Regions from separate parts of the Homo sapiens genome. Here all the other regions are linked to region 3. Evidence: promoter capture Hi-C in 16 types of primary human blood cells and fetal thymus (Javierre and others, 2016). All regions are on one chromosome and are shown on one strand. The core of a region is centred on a gene start or on the middle of the fragment in contact, and the rest is flanking DNA. Distances in the headings are between cores, read along the strand shown. Region 1 overlaps FAM13A (family with sequence similarity 13 member A). Region 2 holds the start of NAP1L5 (nucleosome assembly protein 1 like 5). Region 3 holds the start of TIGD2 (tigger transposable element derived 2). Region 4 overlaps FAM13A (family with sequence similarity 13 member A). Region 5 overlaps HERC3 (HECT and RLD domain containing E3 ubiquitin protein ligase 3).

The links. The method cuts DNA at HindIII sites, captures the fragments that hold promoters and counts their contacts. A CHiCAGO score of 5 or more calls a contact.
Region 1: a fragment that was not itself captured here is called in contact with the fragment with the promoter of TIGD2 in region 3 in 2 of 17 cell types (megakaryocytes and naive CD4 T cells); the score reaches 6.1 in megakaryocytes.
Region 2: the fragment with the promoter of NAP1L5 here is called in contact with the fragment with the promoter of TIGD2 in region 3 in 1 of 17 cell types (megakaryocytes); the score reaches 5.8 in megakaryocytes.
Region 4: a fragment that was not itself captured here is called in contact with the fragment with the promoter of TIGD2 in region 3 in 1 of 17 cell types (fetal thymus); the score reaches 5.4 in fetal thymus.
Region 5: a fragment that was not itself captured here is called in contact with the fragment with the promoter of TIGD2 in region 3 in 1 of 17 cell types (naive B cells); the score reaches 5.2 in naive B cells.

Annotation. Positions count from the first base shown.
Region 1 is chr4:88,807,033-88,809,847 of GRCh38, reverse strand. The region is part of intron 7 of FAM13A (family with sequence similarity 13 member A); the gene reads left to right. Among named protein-coding and RNA genes, the nearest start is that of FAM13A-AS1, 99 kb to the right of the region's middle. The HindIII fragment of the contact is 640 bases long and covers 1,100-1,739 here.
Region 2 is chr4:88,696,411-88,699,110 of GRCh38, reverse strand. NAP1L5 (nucleosome assembly protein 1 like 5) reads left to right here and starts at 1,282. Exons shown (of 1, transcript NM_153757.4): 1 at 1,282-2,700. The coding sequence starts at 1,357. The coding sequence ends at 1,905. The region is part of intron 23 of HERC3 (HECT and RLD domain containing E3 ubiquitin protein ligase 3); the gene reads right to left. RefSeq lists an enhancer at 1,133-1,192. The HindIII fragment of the contact is 2,584 bases long and covers 563-2,700 here.
Region 3 is chr4:89,110,091-89,112,942 of GRCh38, reverse strand. TIGD2 (tigger transposable element derived 2) reads right to left here and starts at 1,410. Exons shown (of 2, transcript NM_145715.3): 1 at 1,060-1,410; 2 at 1-876. RefSeq lists a silencer at 1,153-1,602 and enhancers at 1,683-1,762, 1,793-1,902. The HindIII fragment of the contact is 10,355 bases long and covers 1-2,852 here.
Region 4 is chr4:88,826,355-88,829,054 of GRCh38, reverse strand. The region is part of intron 7 of FAM13A (family with sequence similarity 13 member A); the gene reads left to right. Among named protein-coding and RNA genes, the nearest start is that of FAM13A-AS1, 120 kb to the right of the region's middle. The HindIII fragment of the contact is 5,356 bases long and covers 1-2,700 here.
Region 5 is chr4:88,610,591-88,613,290 of GRCh38, reverse strand. All of the region lies in intron 3 of HERC3 (HECT and RLD domain containing E3 ubiquitin protein ligase 3), which reads right to left. Among named protein-coding and RNA genes, the nearest start is that of HERC3, 19 kb to the right of the region's middle. The HindIII fragment of the contact is 1,698 bases long and covers 459-2,156 here.

The DNA of each region.
Region 1 (2,815 bases), core at 170-2,669, 300 kb after region 3:
TTTAATGTTCTTGATTGGGACCAAACCAAAAACCTAAGCAACAGAACAGTGGCTGCCACGTACCTCCCCAGTTGGCAAGGGGCATGGTTAACGACTGAGACTGTGGATAAATTGAAAATGCTCAAGTACATGTGTTGCACTTTATGTTTTGAGAACAAGGAAGGAAAGGAAAATGTGCTAACTTCACTTATCATTCTCTAAGAAAATTCCTCCCCTTACATTTGTAGCACATGTGGAAAATGCCTGAGTTCCTGAAAAAATGTTTACTTTATACTTTTCTTTTGTTTCTTTATACTTGTCCCTCACTTTCTCTTTTGCTCCTTGTTTTGTTTTTTAAGCCTCATGGATGGTTTTTCTAGTTTCTTCAATGAATGGGACCGAATTCTTAGCATTTACTTGTTTTTCTGTACTTTTCAGTATTCAAGGAACACTTACAAACTATTTCTTCTGTCTCAAACCACTTAGAAATATATTTAAAGTGTGTGGCTAAATATGCAAATTATGTTAATTTTCTGGTAGCCAGCCACATTAACCAATTAGAAAGTTGAAGTAATTGGAGAGTTAAAAAGGGAATGGAATGGAATGGTGGTTTGATCGAGTAATTGAAGATCCATTCTGGGTACTTGCCCTGGGAATTCTCCCAACATTATTTGGTTTTTCTTAGACATATACAACACTATGCCTTTCATGATTTCCTTTAGCTTGCTGTATAATTAAACTGATAGGCATTGCACTGCATTCTGTGGCTTCAGTTTAGAAATTAGGGTAACTCATGAAGAGATTATCAGTCTAGGTGTCATTTATTTATGTGCATTAACCAATGTCAAGCTGTATAAAAAATAAGTTAGACAGGACTCTGCTAAAACGTAGATAAAAATATCTAAGTTATTGGCATTCTTAGTTGTAGCTTCTTAGATTTAGACTGTTATTTAGGTCTATATGATAAATGTTCTTCCTACAAGCAGTTATTTTGAGAATATAGTACCATGTATCTGAGAACATTAAGCATAATCACATAAATGAGGTGATTGCCCAAATCTCTCAATGTATGTTTGATTTTTTTTTTTAAGTAAACTACTTATAATTGGCTGCTTAAGCTTGGTCATTATTGAGAGTCAGCAAATAGGAAATAATTAAAACACGGAGTTTTTACTGGTAACCAAGGAGGAAATCGAATGAATTCTAAGTTGTTTCAATTTGTCATTGGTTTAATTTCATGACACACACTTCCTTCTTCATTCACAGAACATGTGCTTATTTTTAAAAATTAAAAGTGAATCAGAATTAATTCTCAATTTCATCTTTAGGAAAAAATTATGACAAATTATGCTCAAGTTAGAGTTTAGGCAAAATCCTTTAGTATCATTGAACATGACAGATTGACACGAAAACAGAAATAGGTGTAAATGATCTTTGTTAAAGATGTTTTGGAGCCTGTAGTAATAGTACAATATCTTTGTACAGCTGTATAAAAATGGTAATTTTTTCAAATGTGCATTCTGGTTTGTGCATTTTGTGGAAAAGTTTATTTTGTTGATTTTATTTGGAAGAATTGTCCGTGGCCATTTTTCCTTAAAATTACCTTCGAAGTCAATGCATTAAATTTATTTCTAAAATTAGTTGGCTTAATCAATTTGAAATCAATGATTTAGTTGTCTCAAAATTTATGCCTTTGTTTAGATTGTATTACTAAATCCCAGAAAAGGGTACTTTTATGAAAGGGAAAATAGAAATAAGCTTTTAAAATAAAAATTGATTTATTTACCCTCATTTTCTTTCCAAATTATATTGTTTTTCTCAGGGACTGTGCATGGATTGCTCCACTGTTAACTGCTGATTGTTGACTAAATGTAATACTGACTCTGCTTTATTTTACTTAAATTTCAGTGCTTACATTTTCTTTTTTAGAACAAAAACTGGTCAAAATTCAGGGGCATAGCCAAATTAAGAATTTCTTATTTTGTCTTTCATTGATGAATTTACTTTGTGCAAATGCAGGCCAGATAAAATATTTGCTTATGATTAAAATCTTGTGTTTCTATCAAGAGACATTCTTGACATCGTGCCAGTATATTTTAATAAATTAATCACCTTATAAGTGCTGTCAGGCATAATGCATTATGGATGGACTTTGACTAAGGTGATGTAGAGTTGCCATAATCAGAAGCATGACAAGGAGCTTATCAAGTCCACGAGATCTTGTTGTGGCTGCTGGAATGCAGACTGGCCATCGAATGCATTTTCTTCACTAACCTAGTCATCTCGCTGTACTTTAGTAAGTTAAAAATCAAGGGAAAACAATAAGTAAGAAAAATGAACTAACATGTAATACAGTAATTTACACATCACTAGCTGCATCATCTGAATGAGTTATGTACTCACTCTGAGACTGCTTTTCTCACCAGAATTAAGGAGCAAGAAGCCAGAACCAGGGAAGTTTTGTGAGTATCTAATTGAGATAATTAATGTAGGACCTGTGGTAGGATCTGGCCCGCAGTCATAATTGATATGAAATTTGTGAGGGAGATGAAAGGAAAAAAGTATTGCTTCTGTTTGCTGCAGAGAAATTTAGCACACAGACACACACAAATAGCTAAGACACATAAACAGCTGTGTTCAGAGCCCTGAACCATTTAAATCATCTCTCAAAAGCACTTAAGAAAATCAAGCATATTGCTAATTGAATGCACATCAAAGAATGTTACAGTAACCATGTTAATTTTCCTTCAGTTTGCTACATGTTAGAGTAAAGGATCTGTTCTGGGCAAAGAAAGTATGTAGTACTAATTTTACAAAATATGGAGGCCTTTCCTAG
Region 2 (2,700 bases), core at 33-2,532, 410 kb after region 3:
AGAAGAGGGTGAGGAGCGTGAGGAAGAAGAGGGTGAAGAGGGTGAGGAAGAAGAGGGTGAGGAGCGTGAGGAAGAAGAGGGTGAAGAGGGTGAGGAAGAAGAGGGTGAGGAGCGTGAGGAAAAAGTTCGGTGGGGGGAAGGTGAGGAAGAAGGCAGTGGGTGAGGAAGAAGGGGGTGAGGAGGGTGAGGAAGGTGGGGAAGAAGAGGGTAAGGAGGGTGGGGAAGAAGAGGGTGAGGAAGGTGGGGAAAAGGACAGTGCGGCGGGGGGAAGGTGAGGAAGGAGGCAGTGAGTGGGGAAGAAGGCGGGGAAGAAGATGGGCAGAAGGTGGGGCATAAGTCAGTGCGGGGGAGGGGCAGGAGGGAGGGAGAAGATGTGGTGTGGAAAGGTGTGAAAACAGATAGTGGGGAAGGCAGGGAAGCAGACGGTGTTGGGGGAAGGCAGGGAAGACGAATGTGAGCGGGGTGGGATAGATGGCACATGCTTTAACCAAGATAAGAGGGGGCCTTGGCCCTGGGCCCCATGCTTTAGAAAGACTTGCTTTTTTTCAGCCCTCCTCAAGCTTTAGTCCTTCCCACAGGCCAAAGATTCTGTAGGATCTTCTAGAACACACACCAGGACACCGGGAGCTCTGAGATTTCCTACCCAAATGGCTCCAAAACTGCTTCCAGGGGAGTCCTGCTGAGAGACGACCTTGCCACCAAGATATATGCCGCTAGGTGTGTGGGATGGCCAAGGGGGTGTTGGGTGGACACATAGGTACAGAGCTTGGATATGCAAGCTGCCCTATCCACACACATGCACCCCAGGTCCCCAAAGGGGTGGAATGGAGCCAGCTTGCCCGTTCCTCCACTGCATGGAGAGGAATGCGGAGGAATCTAAGAGGTGATCAAACGCCAGCTATGGAGAGAGATGCAGAGGAAAGCGAAGACATATGCACTGGCATTTGTAGAAGGGCCTGGATGGGGGTGAGGAGCACACGGAAAATGGTCTGAGGCCATCTATGCAGTTCCTGAAGAAGCACCTCGGGCAGCTACTGACACTCCCAGCCCAGCTCTACAGGGGTGGGTACATGGGTGGGCTGGGAACAGGGTGTCTGTCCAACAGGCGGGTGTTGAGGGCCCAGAAGATGTCAGGGTAGCAACAGGAGGAATCTGGTGCAGTATGAGCACACGGCCGTCAGCTGATAGTGGGAAGCCAGTCAAGTGCCGCGAAAGCAGGAGGCGGGGCCGCGGCCAACGTCATTCCCGCGGCCGCACGTCACCGCCACTTGCCGCATCCGCAAGATCTCTCTGGACCAGCTCGGGTGCAGGGCCTCTGCGGGAGCCCTCCTAGACCTCTGCGGCTTCTCCTCTAACATGGCCGACTCGGAAAACCAGGGGCCTGCGGAGCCTAGCCAGGCGGCGGCAGCGGCGGAGGCAGCGGCAGAGGAGGTAATGGCGGAAGGCGGTGCGCAGGGTGGAGACTGTGACAGCGCGGCTGGTGACCCTGACAGCGCGGCTGGTCAGATGGCTGAGGAGCCCCAGACCCCTGCAGAGAATGCCCCAAAGCCGAAAAATGACTTTATCGAGAGCCTGCCTAATTCGGTGAAATGCCGAGTCCTGGCCCTCAAAAAGCTGCAGAAGCGATGCGATAAGATAGAAGCCAAATTTGATAAGGAATTTCAGGCTCTGGAAAAAAAGTATAATGACATCTATAAGCCCCTACTCGCCAAGATCCAAGAGCTCACCGGCGAGATGGAGGGGTGTGCATGGACCTTGGAGGGGGAGGAGGAGGAGGAAGAGGAGTACGAGGATGACGAGGAGGAGGGGGAAGACGAGGAGGAGGAGGAGGCTGCGGCAGAGGCTGCCGCGGGGGCCAAACATGACGATGCCCACGCCGAGATGCCTGATGACGCCAAGAAGTAAGGGGGGCAGAGATGGATGAAGAGAAAGCCCACGAAGAAAAAAGCCTGGTTTTGTTTTTCCCAGAATATCGATGGACTTAAAAAGGCTCAGGTTTTTGACCAAAATACAATGTGAATTTATTCTGACATTCCTAAAATAGATTAAATTAAAGCAATTAGATCCTGGCCAGCTCGATTCAAATTTGACTTTCATTTTGAACATAATAAATATATCAAAAGGTGTTAAAGAAAACTGAATTAAACCCAAAATTATGTTTTCATGGTCTCTTCTCTGAGGATTGAGGTTTACAAAGGGTGTTAGCAGATGCGAAGTAAAGAACGTCACTTTGAAACCCATTCATCACACAGCATACGCTACACATGGAACACCCAAGCCATGACTGAACACGTTCTCAGTGCTTAATTCTTAAATTTCTTTACTCATGACATTTCGCAGTGCAGAGAAGGCAGAACCCAAGAAAAACGTCATCTTTGAGACTTTGCTTTTGTAACGCAGACATCAGCTTTACACTTCACAGGAGATTGATGGCATTGAGGAAGATTGCAATGGAGATCATGACACTACTGTTAATAAGGCCAGGAAAACTGCCATTTCAAGTTCTGAAAAATGTTTTGAGTATTTGAATTTAGAGAAACAACATGGTTCCAAGAAGGAGGGTGTAAAACCTGTAAAATACTGTCAACATATGTATTCATTAGTTACAATCTCATGTTTGTGTTTTCTTAGTACTGTCTATTTACAAACACGTAAAAAATACCCCAAATATGTTTAAGTATTAAATCACTTTACCTAGCG
Region 3 (2,852 bases), core at 161-2,660:
AACAAGATAATTAACAACTAAGATTTGAATACAAAGCAACTAGAAAATGAGTTCGTAAGATTCCTCCTCTCACTTCTAGGGCCTAGATGGATAGTGACCAATTTCCTGACAAGGTCTACGTGAATCTACTTGCTATTTTAAAACTTACAAACTTCCTACAACAAAGCCTAGCGCCAATTAACTCTTATCTTCTATCTTTCTTCCTCCTCAGGGTTCAGGGTCTTTCATGAAGTGCAATCACACTAGAGGCTAGAAACTGTACTGGTAAGGCTTCTAAAACAGTACTATTGCATACTCAATTCTTGCCATCCTTGCAGGTAATGTTCTTTGCCAGAATAGCCACTAAATCTCAGGTGGAAGTATTTTAGGAAATGTGCTAGGGAGTAAACAGTTTAAGTCAAGAGAGGACTTGCAAACTTGACATACAGGAAAATACAATGGGAAAACTCACCCTCTGACTATGTGGTCTTTGTCAAGCAGTGGATTGTATGGAATGCTGTCTCTCTAGGCACGGACTCTGCTATAGGTTGCGCAAGTGAGTGCTTGTGGAAATCATACGCAAGAGAAGATGACCCGGACAGAAGTGAACAGTGCAAATAAGGTGAAAGTGGAACAGGCAGAAAACTCTACTTTAAAAGCGACTTAAACCTACTAGATTTGGCAGCTGGAAAGGAGGATAGTGGACATGTGATGTCACATTACTAAAGAAAGCATCAAAAAAACTGCATCGGTGGAAATGAGGACCCAAGGTAGAGGCTATGGGGTGGCAGGCTCGGTGAAGATGATGTTACAATAATCCTGGTGAAAGACGATCCTCGATGGACCAACAGAAGCAGTTCCTGTGGGGGCTGTAGAGATACTCGGAGGCTCCGAAACCTAAAGGAAAATACCAAAAACATTTTCTTTCAATTCAACATCAGGATCTGTGGCATTATCCACATTTATCCTGCAACTATGTTGAGAAAATTAACGCCTCCTATCAATGTGATAGCTAAATACGACAAATAATGCTTTCAGGCATAATCTGGGGTGACAGAGAGAGGGACCTGAAGAGCCTACCTCCTGAAATTAAGAGGTCAGGGAGAAGCCGTGTTAGCGAGGGCCTCTCCCCGCTGGGCGAGCTTCAGAGCGCGGGACGTCTTTCCTCCCGCGGAGGGAGCCCGGATTCCGCCTGGACGCCGGCGACCAGGATGTCACTGCTGCAGCCAGCCAGCCAGCGGGCGGCCGCTTGGCACAGGGAACGCCAGTCCGCCGGCCCCGGGCATCGCCCTGGGACCGCCTGCGCGGCGCCCAGACCACACTAAGCGCAAATGGAGTCTCCTGAGGCAGGCTGGCACTGGTGGCCCGGCAGCGGCGAGGGACGAGCGGAGAGGGACGAGCGTCGCCGCCGGAGCCGGAAGGCGGGGGATTAGAGAGCACGCGCGCGCCCCCGCAGAACGTTGTGCCGGCGAGGGGGCGGGGCCTGCGCGGGTGAGCGCACGCGGCCCGGGGGAGGGGACTCCGGCGAGCGGGCGGGAGGGGCGGGGGCCCGGCAGGGGTGCGTCTCTAGGCGCTGCGTGGGTTCCACTCACCGCCTGGCCGTTTCGGGGCCGCAGTGCCTCCCTGGCCGGCAGGGGGAGGCACACGCTCGCCTTGTCCTGGCGCTTTTCCCAGTGGCCCGGCTCTGCCGACGAGGCTCTTTTCTCCCTAGGGGGAAATTTTAAAATCTCACCCCCCCAGTGCTGGGGGGAAAGCGGAGGATCCTCGCGTGCCGGGAGCGGGCTGCGAATGGGGCAGGGCGAGCGCACGTGGGGCGTGTTTACAAACAGCAGCCGCGCCGCCTTGCGGAGGCGGTCCAGGTGTCGGAGCCCAGAGTCAGCGCGCGTGGAAAGTGCTAGCCCGAGCGAGGATCATGAGGCACGGTAGGAGCCGGCGGACGTGGGTTCCGGGCAGGAGCTGGGGCGTTCGCTCGGCAACACCCAGCCGGACAAGCCCAGGGTGCCGAGGCGCGGCGGGCTGCGGTAGAGCCGAGTGTCGGGTCAGCGCTCCCCGGTGCTGATGCTCCGAAACTCGTCACAGTCGCTGTAGAGACGGACCCTTTGCAAAATCGACAGCACCTGGGAGACCCTTGAGCCAGTGGGAGGCGTCGTGGTAAATTTCCTGCCGTGCCTCGACGCCCGGGGCTTCTCAAGTGGAATCGGGGAATTGCGCTTTGACTGATACTCCCTTTATTTGTTTCCAACGGAGACATCTGCGGAAGGGTCACCGCCTTCCTGGAGGAGAGAGTGGTGCACCTCCACCTTGCACCACCTGTTTCCTGGGAAACGCGGTCAGGCTGCCTTCCTTTCCGTCTTGTGTGTGCGTGTCAGTTTGAAAAATTGGAAATTCTTCAGTGAATTATCTCTTCCATATGAACATAAATGTAACCTTTTCGTTAACACAAAGTAACATAGTAATTCGTCATTTCTTTGACAAGGCCATATACTGTTTCTGGAATTTCAGAAACTTGGAGATGGAAATCAAAGCGAGCATACTGTAGAAAACAGATGTTGATTCTAAGCCTTCTGTTTGACTCCGCCGCCAAAACTGCTCAATTGCCTTTCTCAACATAGCAGCCTTCCACTATCTGGCATGACAGAAATTCTTTGATCTAGTTATGTTGTGAGGTTGTAAGTGGCTTTTGGAGAATACCTGCTTTTAGACCTCCCCTCTTCCCTGCCTTCCATTTGGCTTCCAACAAGCCAGTCCCTTTCTGGAAGTCCTGGTTGCCTGTTTTGGGTACATTATAACTTACTTCATGGTAGTTTTATATAACTTTACAAAATATTCTTATTTTCCCTGATACCTGTGAAGAGCGTGAAAGACTGCTAGAA
Region 4 (2,700 bases), core at 137-2,636, 280 kb after region 3:
GCTCTTGATAGGACAAGAGCAAATGCAGATATTGCCAAACACTTGGAATTTGCTGAAGAAGTTATGTAAGAAAATTAGAAATCTGCAAGCCAGCTAAAACGTGTAAAAGGAAATTGACAACCTAGGAGAAACTGGATAATGTAGAATGCTTAAAAGATTTCAGAAGTTTTGGATAGAATCTTACTTTTAGCACATCTGTGATTGCACATCAATATATAACCCAGGTAGTTTATTCCTTAAGCCAGTTATTTGTTAGTATTATTTTTCATTTGAACCTACATGTGGCATCCAGTTTATCTTATGTGTAGCCCTACAGTAGAAAGTGTTAAAAAGTGGGTAGAATATTGCTTGATAAGTTTAAATCTAATAAAAGGAGCTATACTTCAGAATCTATAGAAGAGTAATTGATGTATCCATTAATTCATTCTGCACTTATTGAGTGTTCTGTGTCAGGGCTGCAGGAAAGATACAGTTCCTGTTGTGGAAAATTTTCATTCCAAAAGGAAGATAATATATACAGCAGATTCAAATAATAATAAAACTGTACAGGAAAAAAAGATAAAAATCATCATCGATACAAAGGGCTGTATGACTTTAAAAGGTCAAGAGATTTCTTTGGCCAAACATAGTGGCTCACATCTGTAATCCCAACACTTTGAGAGGCCAAGGTGAGAAGACTGCTTGAGCCCAGGAGTTCAAGACCAGCCTGGGCAACATAGTAAGAACCTCATCTCTACAAAAAATAAATTATCCAGGCATTTTAGCATGCGCCTGTGGTCTCAGCTACTCAGGAGGCTGAGGTGGGAGGCACACTTGAGCCCAGGAGGTAAAGGCTGCAGTGAGTTGTGATGGTGCCTGCCATTACACTCCAGCCTGGACAACAGAGAGAGACCCTGTCTCAAAAACAAACAAACAAAAAAACATTTCTTTCAATTAGCCTAGACCTAAAGTATAGGTAGGATTTTTCCTGAAGGGAATGAAATGGGAAAATATTCCAGACAGAGGGAACAGCATGAGCAAATATTTAGGATAGAAAAGTTCAGGGCAGATTTGAAAATAGTGACCCAGGCATATCTGGAGTTGTTTCCTCAGGGGAGGTTTAAGCAACTGAACTGGAGAGGCAAATTGGGGTTAATAGGTGGAATGTTCTAATCATCACATTAAAAGGATTGGGGTTCATGTAAGAGGTAGTTGGGAGCTATTGAAGTTTTTGAGTACAAAAATGAGTTACCAAATCGCAAGCATGGTAGGATGTTGACTAATAGTGGAATGTGTGCTATGGTGGCAGAAAGAATATTTTGAACGTTATCCTAAGAGTACAGATAACCTAGGCAGATTGATTAAAGAAACATGACAGGTCAATCAATAGATTTGGTTGAGGGTAGGAGAGGAGAGGGAGGAGTAAAGATGACTCATGGTTTAAATCTGATTCACAAAGGGAATAATTACATCATTATCAAGAAGGGCCAGGAGGAAGAGAAATTTGGAGATCAGATAATATGAAGTCTTGAATGTTTGATTGGGTTGATAATACTAATAATTATTGAGCACTTAACTATTTGCCAGGCACTATTCTATATATTTTACATGCATGGCCTCATTTATTCCTCAGAGCAGCCTCAGAGCTTTTAAACAACCTGCCCAAGTTTGCACTGCCTGTCAGGGGTGAAGTCAGGATCCAGCCCCCAGAGGTGTAATTGCAGCGCCCAATTTATTGAATGCGTGTATTGAATGGTGTTGGGCTTGGAGGCAGGGCTAAACGAGGAGGAAAGACAGATGAAATCAAAGGCGAATGTTGATCAAGAAGGTTTGGTGAATTCCCAAGAAAGATCACAGAGAACCAAAGACTTTCAGAAAACTGAAGGTGAGTGTTTCAGAAAAGTCAAGAGTAGGAGAGGATCTAAGAAAAGGCATTTGGATTTAGTGGTCAAAAGACCCTAAAAGCAGTTTTGGAAAAGTGGTAAAGGTCGAAGTCCATTGGCATGGGATGGAGGAATAAGTAATTTATGAGGAAGTGGAGGCAGCAGAGATAGATTTGGGGGAAGTCTGTAAGTGGGGAAGGAAGAGGGAAATAGCTCTGCAGCACCAGAGGGTAGGACTGCTGAGAAGCACTTTCTAATACTGAGGGACACTCACTTGGTTGCCTGTCAGAAGGGAGGAGAAGCAAGTAGCGAGGGGCAGATTCAAGATGTAGGAGAGACCAGGCTTCTTCCAGAGGAAGGAGAAAATGATGAGATCCAATACACAGATAAGAGGCTTGAGACCTATATGTGAGGACCCTTTCTCCTAAACCAAGAGGACGTCATAAAGAGTGAGGCAAGATGTGTGCTGGAGTGGGAACAGGAGTGGTAGGTGGAGCAGAGAAGACCAAAGGCACTCGCTTATATTTGATGATCTTGATTTTCTCAGTCAATTGGCAGGTGAAATAATTAGTGAGTGAGAGAGGTTCTGTTTTGTGGCACTGGAGAAGATTTGAAGCGGGAATGCAGTGAACAGTCAAAGATAATAAAAAAGGTTGTAACACAGTATTGTGGTTCAAACTAAGTTTAAGTATTACGAATTTTTAGTATAACTAGTTACCAAGTTATGAGATTTTCTTTTGCAATCGTTAGCACTCTGGCAATAGACAGCCCAGATGGCAGGACTTATAAAGGGGGAAGAAGTGGAAGATGCTAGGGAACCCATTTTAGAAATAACTAA
Region 5 (2,700 bases), core at 58-2,557, 500 kb after region 3:
TTGCACAGAAATGTTAGAGCTTGCTTATAAATTGTTACCCTTGGGCTCTGCTATAAGAAGATTTCCTGGTATGTCTACAGAGAATTTTAAAATTTAGCAGAGTCAAATTAGATTACACTAAATAACTGCCCCTACCACGGTTCTTGTCTATTCAAGATAGGGAGAAAGATTAGAAGACACTTATGTAAGTTCAGATATCCCTAATAACACAGAGATTAGCTTACCCTAAAATCCCAATATTAGAAATCAGAGTATGTATGAGGAAAGGAGAACTATTCATTTAGCTGAAGAGTACTGTTTACAATGTGGCTAGGTAGGAATATGAGAGGCATGGTAAATTAAGGTATTTATTGAATCCTTTCTATGGACAACCAGTCTCTAGTTTAATAAAAGAGCTCAAGATTTACTTAATGTCCACTTAGTCACTTATAAAAAATAACATTCAGGAAAAAAAAGCTTATGTTTTGTTTGCTTGCTTTATTAAAAAAAAAGTGGGGAAGGCACACAAGACTTCCTAAAATGCCAGCTCTGTAACTTTATGTCTTAGAAAATTATAAAATAAATTCATGGACAAAAACCATAAGGAAATTAGTAATAACCCTATGATGACTCCAATCACAAAAACTCTGTCTGCTTTGTCGGGGAGGGATGAGGTATATGTCTGAATGCAAAGGTGAGAATGAAGGAGAGAAAAGTCATGTGAGAGAGGAATGTGCAAAAGACTTATAATCCAATACTTTTTTTTAAAGCTGGAAATTGAGTTTAGATGGGGCTTAATATACTACATCTGAAAAATGCTTCTGGGAATCACAGGCCTCTATGCCCTTGGCCAAATCACAAATGAGTCATGGACACACCTAAGCTAGAACTCTGTGTGCTGCCTGACACACTGGGAAAATATCTGGGGCCTGAATAACCAGGAGTTTCAGAATTTGATGTATCTTTGAAATGCCTCCTTCTTACCACACACACACACACACACACACACACACACACACACAGTTGGTCACATAAGGGTATTGCTAATGTGAGAAGTACAGAAATGAGAGTACAAAGAAACCACAGTAGTCTCAGGGTCAGCAACAGCAATAGTTAACTGTTACATATTCTTAAGAAGGAAAAAAAGGATCTCCAAAACCCTTAGAATCACTGAGAGGTGCTTTATATCACTGCTCTGGCACATCTACAGAATGCATCCCAAAAAAATGAATTGATGTGCCTTGCAGCTGAACCAGTTAGAGACAGAGTGTATAACATGGTATATGATGACTAGCAGGACAGAATCAAGGCACACATTAGAAGACTTGTCCAGGTGCATCTCCTACACCAGTACCTTCTTTCAACTTTCCTTCCCCTCAGGAAGGTCAGATTATGTGGCTCCCAGGGTTGTTTGCATTTTAACAGGAAACAAAGTTTCAAGGCAATGAAATAAATTCTCCTCCAGACTAGTGCTAGATGACCATACCCATGCTGGTGGACACCCTGCTAGGACTAGAAATATTAACAAGTCCAATCAGCAAAGTAAGTGTTGATGGTCAGGCATTACTCCATTCACAGCCAGTACTGCAAAGCAAGAAAAAGAAACTTAAGTTTGCCACTTGGGTTCAAAACTCTGTAAGCCACTTGGAGTTGGCCACCATGGAATTAACTCCTTCAACTCACTTCTTCACACTCTCAAAGCCTTAGAGGAACAGTCATACACTCACTTTTTAAAATCCTTCATATTTCAAAGTCAACCAATCTGGGCAATGATACCAAGCTGAAATCACAGACCTGCCCATAACCCCCAGAAAAATCCTCTTTTAAGGAAGGGGCCTTCCATCATGTTCCCTTCCCAAATACCACAGAAGCTACTTGGGGGTAGCATTCCTGTGGGCCAAGACCAACAGATACCTGTAACAAACTAGGCCTGCCACAGACTTCCCTTCCATGTCTAGCAGCTCTCCAGGTCATGGTTCTCAATAAGCAAACACAGAAAACAAGTTCATTCTCTTCTTCCCACTCATTAAAAACAAACGCAAATCATATCCAGATTTAGAACACACCTACCAACGAAAAAGTTAAATGGAGAGAGGGAGGCACCCACCCACATAATCTTTCCATTCAAAGAGGCATTATTCCAAGCTGCTATGGAGTTTATAATTAACAGACAAGCTTAACCAACAACAGAAATTTCTGGAATCTCTTGTAATTTACACTACAGCCTGCCTTATTCCAAATTTAGATCACAAGCATGGGCTGGATTCCGAGGCTGAATCCCAAAGCCTTCTTGGCACACCTCTAGCTTGGGATTCTTGCAGTCACTCAGCCCTGTGGGGAGGGCGTCTGCAGGATGACTGAGGGCCAGCTGACCCAGTATGCAGACAGACGCAGTGCGGCTGCTTTGCCAGAGCTCACTCACATCCAGAGGCCCAGCAACACCTACCATTAGCTCCTTGGAGCTGCATCAGGAGGCTGTGCTAGAGAAATGTCTCGTTGCACTCAGATGTATTCATTATGATGCCTTCTACAGATCTTTGCTATCATTGTTCTGCGAGGTTTTTGCTTCCTTTCCCAGCTGCTACCCCAGGGTGAATCCTCTCCCCCAAGTTCCAAGACCAAGGTGTGCACTGAGGCATATCTGAGCAACTGACTCTGCAGTGAGGCTGCCTGATAGAAGACCAAGCCACAGAGAAGACAGACAAGGAGGGTGGGAAGAGG